Linked DNA regions of Homo sapiens: region 1 is linked to region 2. Evidence: promoter capture Hi-C in 16 types of primary human blood cells and fetal thymus (Javierre and others, 2016). All regions are on one chromosome and are shown on one strand. Each heading gives the region's core, a stretch centred on a gene start or on the middle of the fragment in contact. The rest is flanking DNA. Distances are from core to core; before and after follow the strand shown.

The links. The method cuts DNA at HindIII sites, captures the fragments that hold promoters and counts their contacts. A CHiCAGO score of 5 or more calls a contact.
Region 1: a contact is called between a fragment that was not itself captured here and the fragment with the promoter of PLA2G4C in region 2, in 12 of 17 cell types (megakaryocytes, M1 macrophages, M0 macrophages and 9 more). The highest score is 10.3, in megakaryocytes.

Annotation. Positions count from the first base shown.
Region 1 is chr19:47,959,760-47,965,129 of GRCh38, forward strand. No RefSeq gene overlaps it. Among named protein-coding and RNA genes, the nearest start is that of SNAR-C1, 6.8 kb to the left of the region's middle. The HindIII fragment of the contact is 5,095 bases long and covers 647-5,370 here.
Region 2 is chr19:48,107,959-48,113,475 of GRCh38, forward strand. PLA2G4C (phospholipase A2 group IVC) reads right to left here and starts at 2,859. Exons shown (of 17, transcript NM_003706.3): 1 at 2,529-2,859. RefSeq lists an enhancer at 2,675-2,834. The HindIII fragment of the contact is 20,185 bases long and covers 2,688-5,517 here.

The DNA.
Region 1 (5,370 bases), core at 1,944-4,443, 150 kb before region 2:
AATTGTTCTAAATAAACAGACATAGAATACAAAAATCACAAAATGTCAGAATAAAATTTCTTTTCACAAACATACAACAAAAACTTAGCAATAATTAATGTAGTAACATAGACTGGTTTGGTGTCTTACATGTGTGAAGAACTTGTGAACAGAATTTGATTCCTCAGTTGAATATTGGTTCTAGAATTTGAGGATCATTATTCATTCTGAGCAATCAAAGTTTAACCTAAAATTAAACAGAAAAATATTTAACTTAAAGCTAGTCCCAGAATAGCACAGCTAACATCACACTGAACTGTGAAACCTTTTCCTCTAAGATCAGGAAGAAGACAAGGATGTCCACTTTTGCCACTACTGTTTAACAGAATAGTGGAAGCCCTTGCCAGAGCAATTAGGCAAGAAAAAATAGTAAGAGGCAACCAAACTGGAAAGGAAGAAATAAATTATCTCTGTTCACAGAAAACATGATCTTGTGTATAGGAAACTCTAAAGATTCTACATACAAAATGTGTTAGAACTAATACATGAATTCAGCAAAGTTGCAGGATATGAAATCAACTCATAAAAATCAGTTGCATTTATATACTAACAACGAAGAATCCAAAAAAGAAACAATTCCATTTATAATAACACCAAAACCTCCCAAAGCTTAGGAATAAATTTAACCAAGGAGGTAAAAGACTTGAAGTTAAATAAGATATAAATAAATTAAAAGACATTCCGTGTTCATGGACTGGAAGATTTAATACTATTAAGATGTCAGTATGGACCCAAAGCAATCTACCAATTCAATGCAATTCCTACAAAAGTTATAAAGGTTCTTTGCTTTGTTTTGTTTTCGCAGAAATAGACAAATCTATCCTAAAATTCATACGGAATCTCAAGAGACTCAGAATAGCCAAAACAGGCTGGGCATGGTGGCTCATACCATGTAATCCCAGCACTTTGGGAGGCTGAGGCAGGCAGATCACCTGAGGTCAGGAGTTCAAAATCAGTCTAGCCAACACGGTGAAACCCTGTCTCTACCAAAAATACAAAAATTAGCCAGGCATGGTGGCACATGCTTGTAGTCCCAGCTACTTGGGAGGCTGAGGCAGGATAATTGCTTGAATCCAGGAGACAGAGGTTGCAGTGAGCTGAGATGGCGCCACTGCACTCCAGCCTGGGTGACAGAGTAAGACTTTGTCTAAAACAAACAAAAAAATGAATAGGCAAAACAATCTTGAAAAATAAGAACAAAGTTGGAGGCTTCACATTTCCTAATTTCAAAACTTAATACAAAACCACAGTAATTAAAACAGTGCGGCGCTGGCATAAAGACAGCCACATAGACCAATGGAATAGAATACATTGAAATTTTCTAAAGGACAATTTTTTCAATTTCCAACTTTTATGTGGTTTAACATTCGTAAGCAAGTTTGTGTTCTTTGAATCACTGAGAGCTTTTGAGCATGTAGCAATATCCTGCACAAATTTTGCATGAGTGTGTTAAAGACGGGTAAGTATTAAATGTCTCATGCAGCCGGATGCAGTGACTCACACCTATAACCCCAGCACTTTGGGAGGCCAAGGCAGGTGGATGAGTTGAGGTCAGGAGTTCGAGACCAGCCTGGCCAACATGGTGAAACCCCGTCTCTGTTAAGAATACAAAAATTAGCTGGATGTGGTGGTGGGGGCCTGTAATCCCAGGTACTTGGGAGTCTGAGGCAGGGGAATCACTTGAATCCGGGAGGCAGAGGTTGCAGTGAGCCGAGATTGCACCACCGCACTCCAGCTTGGGTGACAGAGCAAGACTCCGACTCAAAAAAAAAAAAAAAAGGTCTCATGGAGGAAGTCAGTTCTGTAGAATGACCCCACTGCAAGATGCTCTTCCAGTGCCAGGAAGTGGATTATGTTCTAGGAGCCATGAAGGAGAGTTTACAGAAGCCCATTCTCCGCTTCATCATCATTGTAACACAATGAAAGCTGATGACATGGCTGCTTGGCTACACTGTGTTTATCAGCTTCTCCTGCATTTAGAATGGGGGCATGTAACTACACACTCTAAGTAGGTGCTTACCCAGGTCCAGAGTCTCCAGGAATAAGATCAATGTAGAAGAGCAGCTACAGAAGGAGTCGGTTGACTTGAATGACATAAAAATAAATCATGGTAATTGCTTAAGCCTCAGCATTTTTTTTGTACTGTCCCATTTAGATAAATGAATAGAGTTTGACAACAGTCTTTCATGTCTTTGTTGGTGCCACCAAGCTCTGAAATTCCCAAGGAACATAATGTTTCTTCACGCGCTCCATTCTCGTAGGAGGCTAACTACGATGACGTGCAATGTGACTTTTCCCTATCTTAATAGCTGGGCCCAAGGGTCTGGGAACCGATGTGAGTCATACGCCTTTCTGAAAATATTTTTTTCAAACTGTATTACTCCTGGGCCCTGCGGAAATCATTGCAGAAAGTATTTGGTATCACACTGAGCTAACAGAGAAGTGAACCTAACTCAGGACTCTGTCTCATGTTCCTATAATCTTCCACTCTAATCACTGGATATCAGTGGTATTCCTAGTCCTTGAAAACTAATCTTTGCTCAAAACCAGTATTCAGTAGGCTCTGGAAAGTTTATGTATTTACCTTTGTAATTTCTTTCTTTCTTTCTTTCTTTCTTTCTTTCTTTCTTTCTTTCTTTCTTTCTTTTTTCTTTCTTTCTTTCTTTTTTCTTTCTTTCTTTCTTTCTTTCTTTTTTTTCTGAGAGACTAGAGTTTCGCTCTAGTCTCTCACGCTGGAGTGCAATGGCGCGATCTCAGTTCACTGCAACCTCCGCCTCCCAGGCTCAAGCGATTCTCCTGCCTCAGCCTCCCGAGTAGCTGGGATTACAGGAATGCGCCACCATGCTCAGCTAATTTTTGTATTTTTAGTAGAGATGGGGTTTCACCATGTTGGCCAGGCTGGTCTCGAACTCCTGACCTCAGGGGATCCACCCCCCTCGGCCTCCCAAAGTGCTGGGATTACAGGCGTGAGCCACCGTGCCTGGTCCCTTTGCATTTTCTTACTGTGTCTGCCTATGGCCTTATAGCAGTGCCTGGTTACCCAGCCTTGCCTTCACTCAAGGGGCATTGAGTTGGTGAACTGTCTTGTGCCTGGAACTGGGAGAAAAGCCATGACTCTAGCGCGATGGTTCCAGTCTGGCTGTTATACTGTGGATCTTCTGTGCAATGAACGTCTTTTTTTTTTTTTTTTTTTTGAGACAGAGTCTTGCTCTGTCACCAGGCTGGAGTGCAGTGGTGCAATCTCAGCTCACTGAAACCGCCCCCTCCCGGGTTCAAGCAATTCCCCTGCCTCAGCCTCCCAAGTTGCTGGGGCTACAGGTGTGTGCCACCATGCCAGGCTAATTTTTTGTATTTTAGTAGAGACGGGGTTTCACCATGTTGGCCAGGATGGTCTCGATCTCATGACCTCGTGATCTGCCCGCCTCGGCCTCCCAAAGTGCTGGGATTACAGGCATGAAGCACTGCACCTGGCCACAATGAATGTCTTTAAGTGAACTGTCAGTTGAATTCATTTCTGAAAAAAACCTATGATTATCACCACCAGATGTCGCTCTTGCACCAGCCATTCTCTATGATCTGATTAGTAATTATACCCTGTTGCCTGGTATCACTTTGCTTCTTAGGGATTAATTGCCACCACCTGGGCTCAATCACACCAGGCTCTGCCTGTCTCCACTGGAACCCTGAAGCTCACTTCAAAAAGCATGGCTTTCTGCTAGCATTCCTAGAGCGGAAAAGCAAGTCAGCCATATTCTTTACAAAAGATTTCCTATGCTTTGTGAAAGATTAAGATGAGATTTATGGGTTCACAAAGACAATGTTTCCGTTTTTTTAACCATAATCTATAGAAAGAATAGACTTTAAAATATGAGCTGACTTCTATCTATCCATCATCTATATCTTTCTATTTAGGCATCCCTATCTATCTATACAATCTCTAAACCTTTTTAGAAATAACTCATGCCATACACATGAAACACTCTGTGTTTTTCCATCCACGTTTGCAGTATTTTTAATTTAAACAATGCTGGTTGTGCTTTGATAAATGGAAGATTATGACTCACCATTTGAAAAGAGCTGGCCTAAGTGTGTGTCTTTCTTTTCTTTTCTTTTCTTTTCTTTTCTTTTCTTTTCTTTTCTTTTCTTTTCTTTTCTTTTCTTTCTTTTTTTGATGGAGTCTCACTCTGTCGCCCAGGCTGGAGTGCAGTGTTGCTATCTCGGCTCGCTGCAGCCTCAGCCTCCCGGATTCAAGCGATCCTCCTGCCTCAGCCTCCTGAGTAGCTGGGATTACAGGCGCCTGCCACCACACCTGGCTAATTTTTGTATTGTTAGTAGAGATGGGGTTTCACCATGCTGGCCGGGCTGGTCTCAAACTCCTGACCTCAGGTGATCCACCCGCCTTGGCCTCCCAGTGTTGGGATTACAGGCTTGGACCACCGTGCCTGGCCCTAAGTGTTTTCTAACATAAGCATGGATAGGTTTAAGAGTGGAGGGTGGGCGTTTGTGTGTGTGTGTGTGTGTGTGTGTGTGTGTTTGTGTGTGTGTGTGTGTGTGGTCACAGGGCCTCTGGACATTGCCATCCCCCTTCACCTCTGCACCTGCCTAATTGTCATTAAACTATCGGGACCCAGCCTGGTTGTTGTCCCTTGTCCCTTCCTAGAAGTGATCCCTGATCCTGCAGGCTGAGCAAGGGTCCCGTTCTCTGGCCTCCTCTTACCCCTGGAGTCTCTGGTTTTTTTTTTTTTAAATTAGTTAATTAATTAATGTATTTTTGAGACGGAGTTTCACTCTGTCTCCCAGGCTGGAGTGCAGTGGTGCAATCTCAGCTCACTGCAACCTCCACCTCCCGGGTTCAAGTGATTCTCCTGCCTCAGCCTCCTGAGTAGCTGGGATTACAGGCAGGCACCACCACACCCAGCTAATTTTTGTATTTTTAGTAGAGACAGGGTTTCGCCATGTTGGCCAGGCTGGTCTCGAACTGCTGACCTCAGGCGATCCACCTGCCTCAGCTTCCCAAAGTGCTGGGATTACAGGCATTAGCTGCTGTGCCCAGGCATATACTCACTGTTTTCTTGGCCATTCATGAACACGTGAACAGCAGGGAAGAACTGGAGTTGTTCAATGCCCTCATGCCCTGCTGAGGTTGAACAAGGTGATGCTCCACCTTCTTGTTTCGGCTTTCAGTGTATACAAGGGTCCTTCAGGCTGGGCGTGGTGGTTCACAACTGTGATCCCAGCACTTTGGGATGCCGACACGGGCGGATCACCTGAGGTCGGGAGTTCGAGACCAGCCTGACCAACATGGGGAAACCTCGTCTCTACTAAAAAATA
Region 2 (5,517 bases), core at 1,609-4,108:
TATCAATCATTGGAGATGACTCACACTCCTTACTCTGCCCCTTATTATCCAATAAATAACAGCGCAGCCAGGCATTTGGGGCCACTATCGGTCTCTGCGTCTTGGTGGTAGTGGTCCCCCAGGCCCAGCTGTCTTTTCTTCTATCTCTTTGTCTTGTGTTTTTATTTCTACGATCTCTCGTCTCCGCACATGGGGAGAAAGACCCACAGACCCTGCAGGGCTGGTCCCTACAGTGGCGCAATCATAGCTCACTGCAGCCTCCAACTCTTGGGCTCAAGCAATCCTCCTGCCTTGGCCTCCTGGGTTGCTGGGACTACAGGCATGCACCACCACGTCTGGCAAAGTTTTAATTTTTTTGTAGAGATTGAGGTCTCACTATGTTGCCCAGGCTGGTCTCATTCTCCCGGGCTCATGCAATCCTCCTGCCTCAGCCTCCCAAGAAGTGGGGATTACAGGTGTTAGCTACCACACCCCACTAAAAAGCTGAGTTCTGTGTTTCACGACAGTGATATTATTTATAGAAGTAGCTGGGGAAGTTATAAATCATGCGACCCCTGGTTACGTGACTCTGGAGCACATATAGAAAAGGAAGCTAAGGGATGGCAGGTCATTCTTCAACCCACGACTGTTCTTTAGCAAAGTTCCAGCACCTTCATGATTCTAACCTTGTCTTATGAATGTGACTTCAGGCCAGGCACAGTGGCTCATGGCTGTAATCCCAGCACCTTAAGAGGCCGAGGTGGGAGGATCACTTGAGGTCAGGAGTTGGAGACCAGCCTGGCCAACATGGTGAAACCTTATCTCTACTAAAAGTACAAAAGTCACCTGGGCATGATGGCGGGCGCCTGTAATCCCAGCTACTCAGGAGGCTGAGGGAGGAGAATCACTTGAACTCAGGAGGTGGAGGTGCCAGTGAGCAGAGATCATGCCATTGCACTCCAGTCTGGGCAACAAGAGTGAAACTCTGTCTCAAAACTAAATAAATAAATAAAAAGTAAATGAATGTGGCTTCAATCTCTCAACAAGGACTGGGGGTCAGTTTTCTTTGTCTCAAAGTTTAACTATGAATTAAATTCCTCTCATGGTAATTTTGGCCTCTGCACTAGAATAAGAAAAAAAAATCTAGCCTGTGAGGTTAGAAACAAGATGGTCAGTCATGTTAGCTTTCTCTCATTACTTACATTTCTGCGAAGGCAGTTTCAAGACCCCCCTTATGAAATTAATCAGCTTCCCCCCACCACCTCCAAATTCATATGTTGGACTTGTAACCCCCAGAACCTCAGAATGTGACTGTATTTGGACATAGGATTCTTTTTCGTTGTTTGCTTTTTGAGACAGGGTCTTGCTTTGTCACCCAGGCTGGAGTGCAGTGGTGTGATCGTGGCTCACTGCAGCCTCAGCCTCCTGGGCTCAAGCGAGCCTCTCACCTCAGCCTCCCGAGTAGCTGGAAGTGCAGGTACATGCTACCATCTCCAGCTAAATTTTTTATGTTTTGTAGAGATCAGGTCTTGTTATGTCACCCAGGCTGGTCTTGAACTCCTAGGCTCAAGAGAGCTTTCCACCTTGGCTTCCCAAAACGCTGGGATTATAGGCATGAGTCATCGCACTCGGCCAGACATAGGCTCTTAAAGGGGTGACTAAGTTAAAGTGGGGTCCTGAGGGTGGCCTGGAATTTGGTTTGATTGGTTTATTTTATTTTATTTTTTTTTGAGATGGAGTCTCGCTTTGTGCCCTAGGCTGGAGTGCAGTGGCGCAGTCTCGGCTCACTGCAAGCTCCGCCTTCCGGGCTCACGCCATTCTCCTGCCTCAGCCTCCGGAGTAGCTGGGACTACAGGCGCCCGCCACCACGCCCAGCTAATTTTTTGTATTTTTAGTTGAGACGGGGTTTCACTGTGTTAGCCAGGATGATCTCGATCTCCTGACCTCAGGATCCGCCCGCCTCGTCTTCCCAAAGGGCTGGGATTACAGGCGTGAGCCACCGCGCCCAGCCTGATTGGTTTTATAAGGAGAGATTAGGGCCTCTGCAAGAGGCTTCAGGAGAAACCAACCCTGCCAACACCTTGATCTTGGACTTCTAGCTTCCAGAAGTGTTAGAAAATAAATTCCTAGCCGGGCGCGGTGGCTCACGCCTGTAATCCCAGCACTTTGGAAGGCCGAGTGGGGTGGATCACGAGTTCAGGAGTTTGAGACCAGCCTGGCCAACATGGTGAAACCCCATCTCTACTAAAAATACAAAAATTAGCCGGGTGTGGTGGTGTGCGCCTGTAATCCCAGCTACTCGGGAGGTTGAGGCAGGAGAATCGCTTGAACCCCGGAGGCGGAGCTTGCCGTGAGCCGAGATCGCGTCACTGCACTCCAGCCTAGGCGACAGAGCGAGATGCTGTCTCAAAAAAAAATAAATAAATAAATAAAATAAAATAAAATAAAAAAGAAAAAGAAATCCTGTTATTTAATTGCACCCAATCCCTGGTACTTGGTTATGGCCGCCCCAGCGGGATGAAACAGCCCTCCCTGCCCCCACGGCTTGCCTGAGCCTGGGTCTGGGGCGTGTGCGCATGCGCGGTGGAGCTTGTGCTCCGGAATCCGGTGCGGAGGCTTGGGCTCCCTGCGCTTAGCGGTGTAGTCGCTGGACAGCTCCTTCAGCCGGAATCTCCGCGGGTGAAGACTGCGGGGATCCTCGGTGCCAAAGCTTCTGTGGTCCTCCTGCTTTCCTTTTCCCCCTGTGGGAGGAGGTCGCGGGCTGGAGGTGTTTCCTCCTGGTCCTGAGCAGGGCCAACCTGGAGGTAAAATGGCCCCTGCGCCTTTAAACAGCCCTCCTCGGCTTGTAGGCCCTGCTTGGTTGCTCCAGCTTTTTCAGCTGTTCCAGAGCTCACCCGGAGCTATTTTCATCCGTGGGATCACGTGGAGGGCTGGGACTTTCCAGGCTTCCTTAGTGATGTCACCCTTCTGTCATTAGGCACCCGAGACCAGTATTCAAAAAAAGAATGTTGTCGTTATATAACTATATTGGAGATAAGTATTCCTCAAAACAGATTAGCTAATCCTCCTATGCATCTGGCTGTCTAATAACCATCATATATAATATCATACTCAAATACCCAGAAAAAGAAATATTGAGGCCAGGCGTGGTGGCTTACGCCTGTAATCCTAGCACTTTGGGAGGCTGAGGCAGGCGGATCATGTGAAGTCAGGAGTTCGAGACCAGCCTGGCCAACATGGTGAAACACCTTCTCTACTAAAAATACAAAAATTAGCTCGGTATGGTGGCGTGTGCCTGTAATCCCAGCTACTACTCGGGAGGCTGAGGCAGGTGCTTCATCCTGGGAGGTGGAGGTTGCAGTGAGCCAGATCCTTAGGGCCAACTCTGGTTCATTTAATGTCCATTTTTAGAAAACCTGTGAGCTCCATTCACAGTGAAGGTTTGAAGCCCAGAAGTGGCCTCCCAACAGGGTACCACATTTCCCAGCACCTTTGCAGCTAGGTGTGGTCATGTGAGCGAGTTATGTGGTCATGTGACCGAGTTCCAGTCAGTGCAATCGGGCATCTGTGGGGAGCACCGCTTCCAAGAGTGGCTCCTAGAAACCTCCCATACTACCCTCCTGCCTACTCTTCCTGAAGCCCAGCACTAAGCGTCATCCCAACTCGATGGGTTTTGAATTTTTTTTTTTTTTTTTTGAGATGGAGTCTTACTCTTTGTCGCCCAGGCTGGTGTGCAGTGGTGCAATCTCGGCTCACTGCAACCTCCGTCTCCTGGGTTCAAGCGATTCTCCTACCTCAGCCTCCCGAGTAGCTGGGAACATAGGCATCTGCCACCACGCCCGGCTAATTATTTTTGTATTTTTAGTAGAGACAGGGTTTCACCATGTTGGCCAGGCTGGCTCGAACTGCTGAACTCAAGTGATCCACCTGCCTCGGCTTCCCAAAGTGCTGGGATTACAGTTGCGAGCCACCGCACCCAGCTTGAATTCTTATTTTTTAAAAATAGATATGAGGCCATAATCCTAGCACTTTGGGAGGCCAAGGCAGGAGTATCACCAATTTTAGAACAGGATTTCACCAGGGGGAAGATGGTCTCCCCTGCTCCCCCTAACGCCAGGCTCACCTCTTCAGTGCCCGCAACTCCAACCATCGCAGGATCTTTTCACTCCTAGACCTGACCATGCCACTGCCCCGCCTGCGGGATAAGGTTCTACACCTCGCAGGAGCTCATGAGGCTCTCCACAGTATAGTTAGTAGTTATAGATGCAGGGTCAAGGAGCTGACAGCATGGACCAAACCCTGGCCCACCACTTCCTAGATAGTGGACCTAGGGAAGGTAACTTACATCCCTGTGCCCCTCAGTGTCCTCACCTGTTAAATGGGGAGAATAAAAGTACCTACCTGGTGGAGCCATCATGAGGGTCACTGAGGAGTGAGGATGACCCTGACTAGCTTCAGCAGAGGGACATGGCGGCCGTGTGTGGCAGATGTGTTCCTGGGGCCCTGCACTGGTGCAGGGAGGAAGAGCCAAGCCCAAAGGAACCATGGTCTCCACACAAAGCCAGTAATGTGGGGATCCCCTGACATACAACATTTACTTTTTTTTTTTGCCTTAAACATTTTATTTGAAATTGAAACACAAATGCACACTAATTTGCCAGTTCTTTAAGGCAGAGCTGTATCAGGAACTCTTAGCTATGAGAAACAAGTCTTTTTTTTTTTTTTTTTTTTTTTTGAGACGGAGTTTTGCTCTTGTTGCCCAGGCTGGAGTGCAATGGCTCGATCTCGGCTCACTGCAACCTCCTCCTCCCGGGTTCAAGCGATTCTCCTGCCTCAACCTCCTGAGTAGCTGGGAGTAACAGGCATGTGCCACTACGCCCGGCTAATTTTGTATTTTTAGTGGAGACGGGGTTTCTCCATGTTGGTCAGGCTGGTCTTGAACTCCCGACCTCAGGTGATCTGCCCGCCTCGGCCTCCCGAAGTGCTGGGATGACAGGCATGAGCCACTGTGCCCGGCTGAAAGCCATGTTTTAGAGTGGCATAATCGCCCTGGGGCTTATTCTTCCCCTACTCCCATGAACAAAAGCCCACAGTTAGGCAGCTGCTGCCCTAGGTTCGCCGGTTTAGGGTCGTCAGGAGAGTTTGTTACTCTTTTTCCTCATCATTACAAGGTGGTGACTTGGCTCCAGCCATCATCTCTAGTCAAGGCAGGAGGAGGGGAGGAGCTGCCACAACCAGGGCTGTCCTTTTTGGTCAGGAAAGATGTTTCTCCAGAAGTCCCCAGCAGCCCCTGTGCTTATGTCCCCTGGGTCTGCCCACACAGGGCTACAGGGCCACTGCTAGCCCCAAGGAGACTCGGAAGGCAATGTTGTCTTCTTGGGCTACAACAAATAGAAACAGAATGCCCAAGAGATTGTGTGCACAAGAGACCATGATGGAGACACAGGAAGAGAGACAGGGAGGCTGAGTCACAGTGACAGACAGCAAAGTAAGCCTGGCACAGACTTGCACGGCAGAGAGCAAAGCCTCGCAGATAGA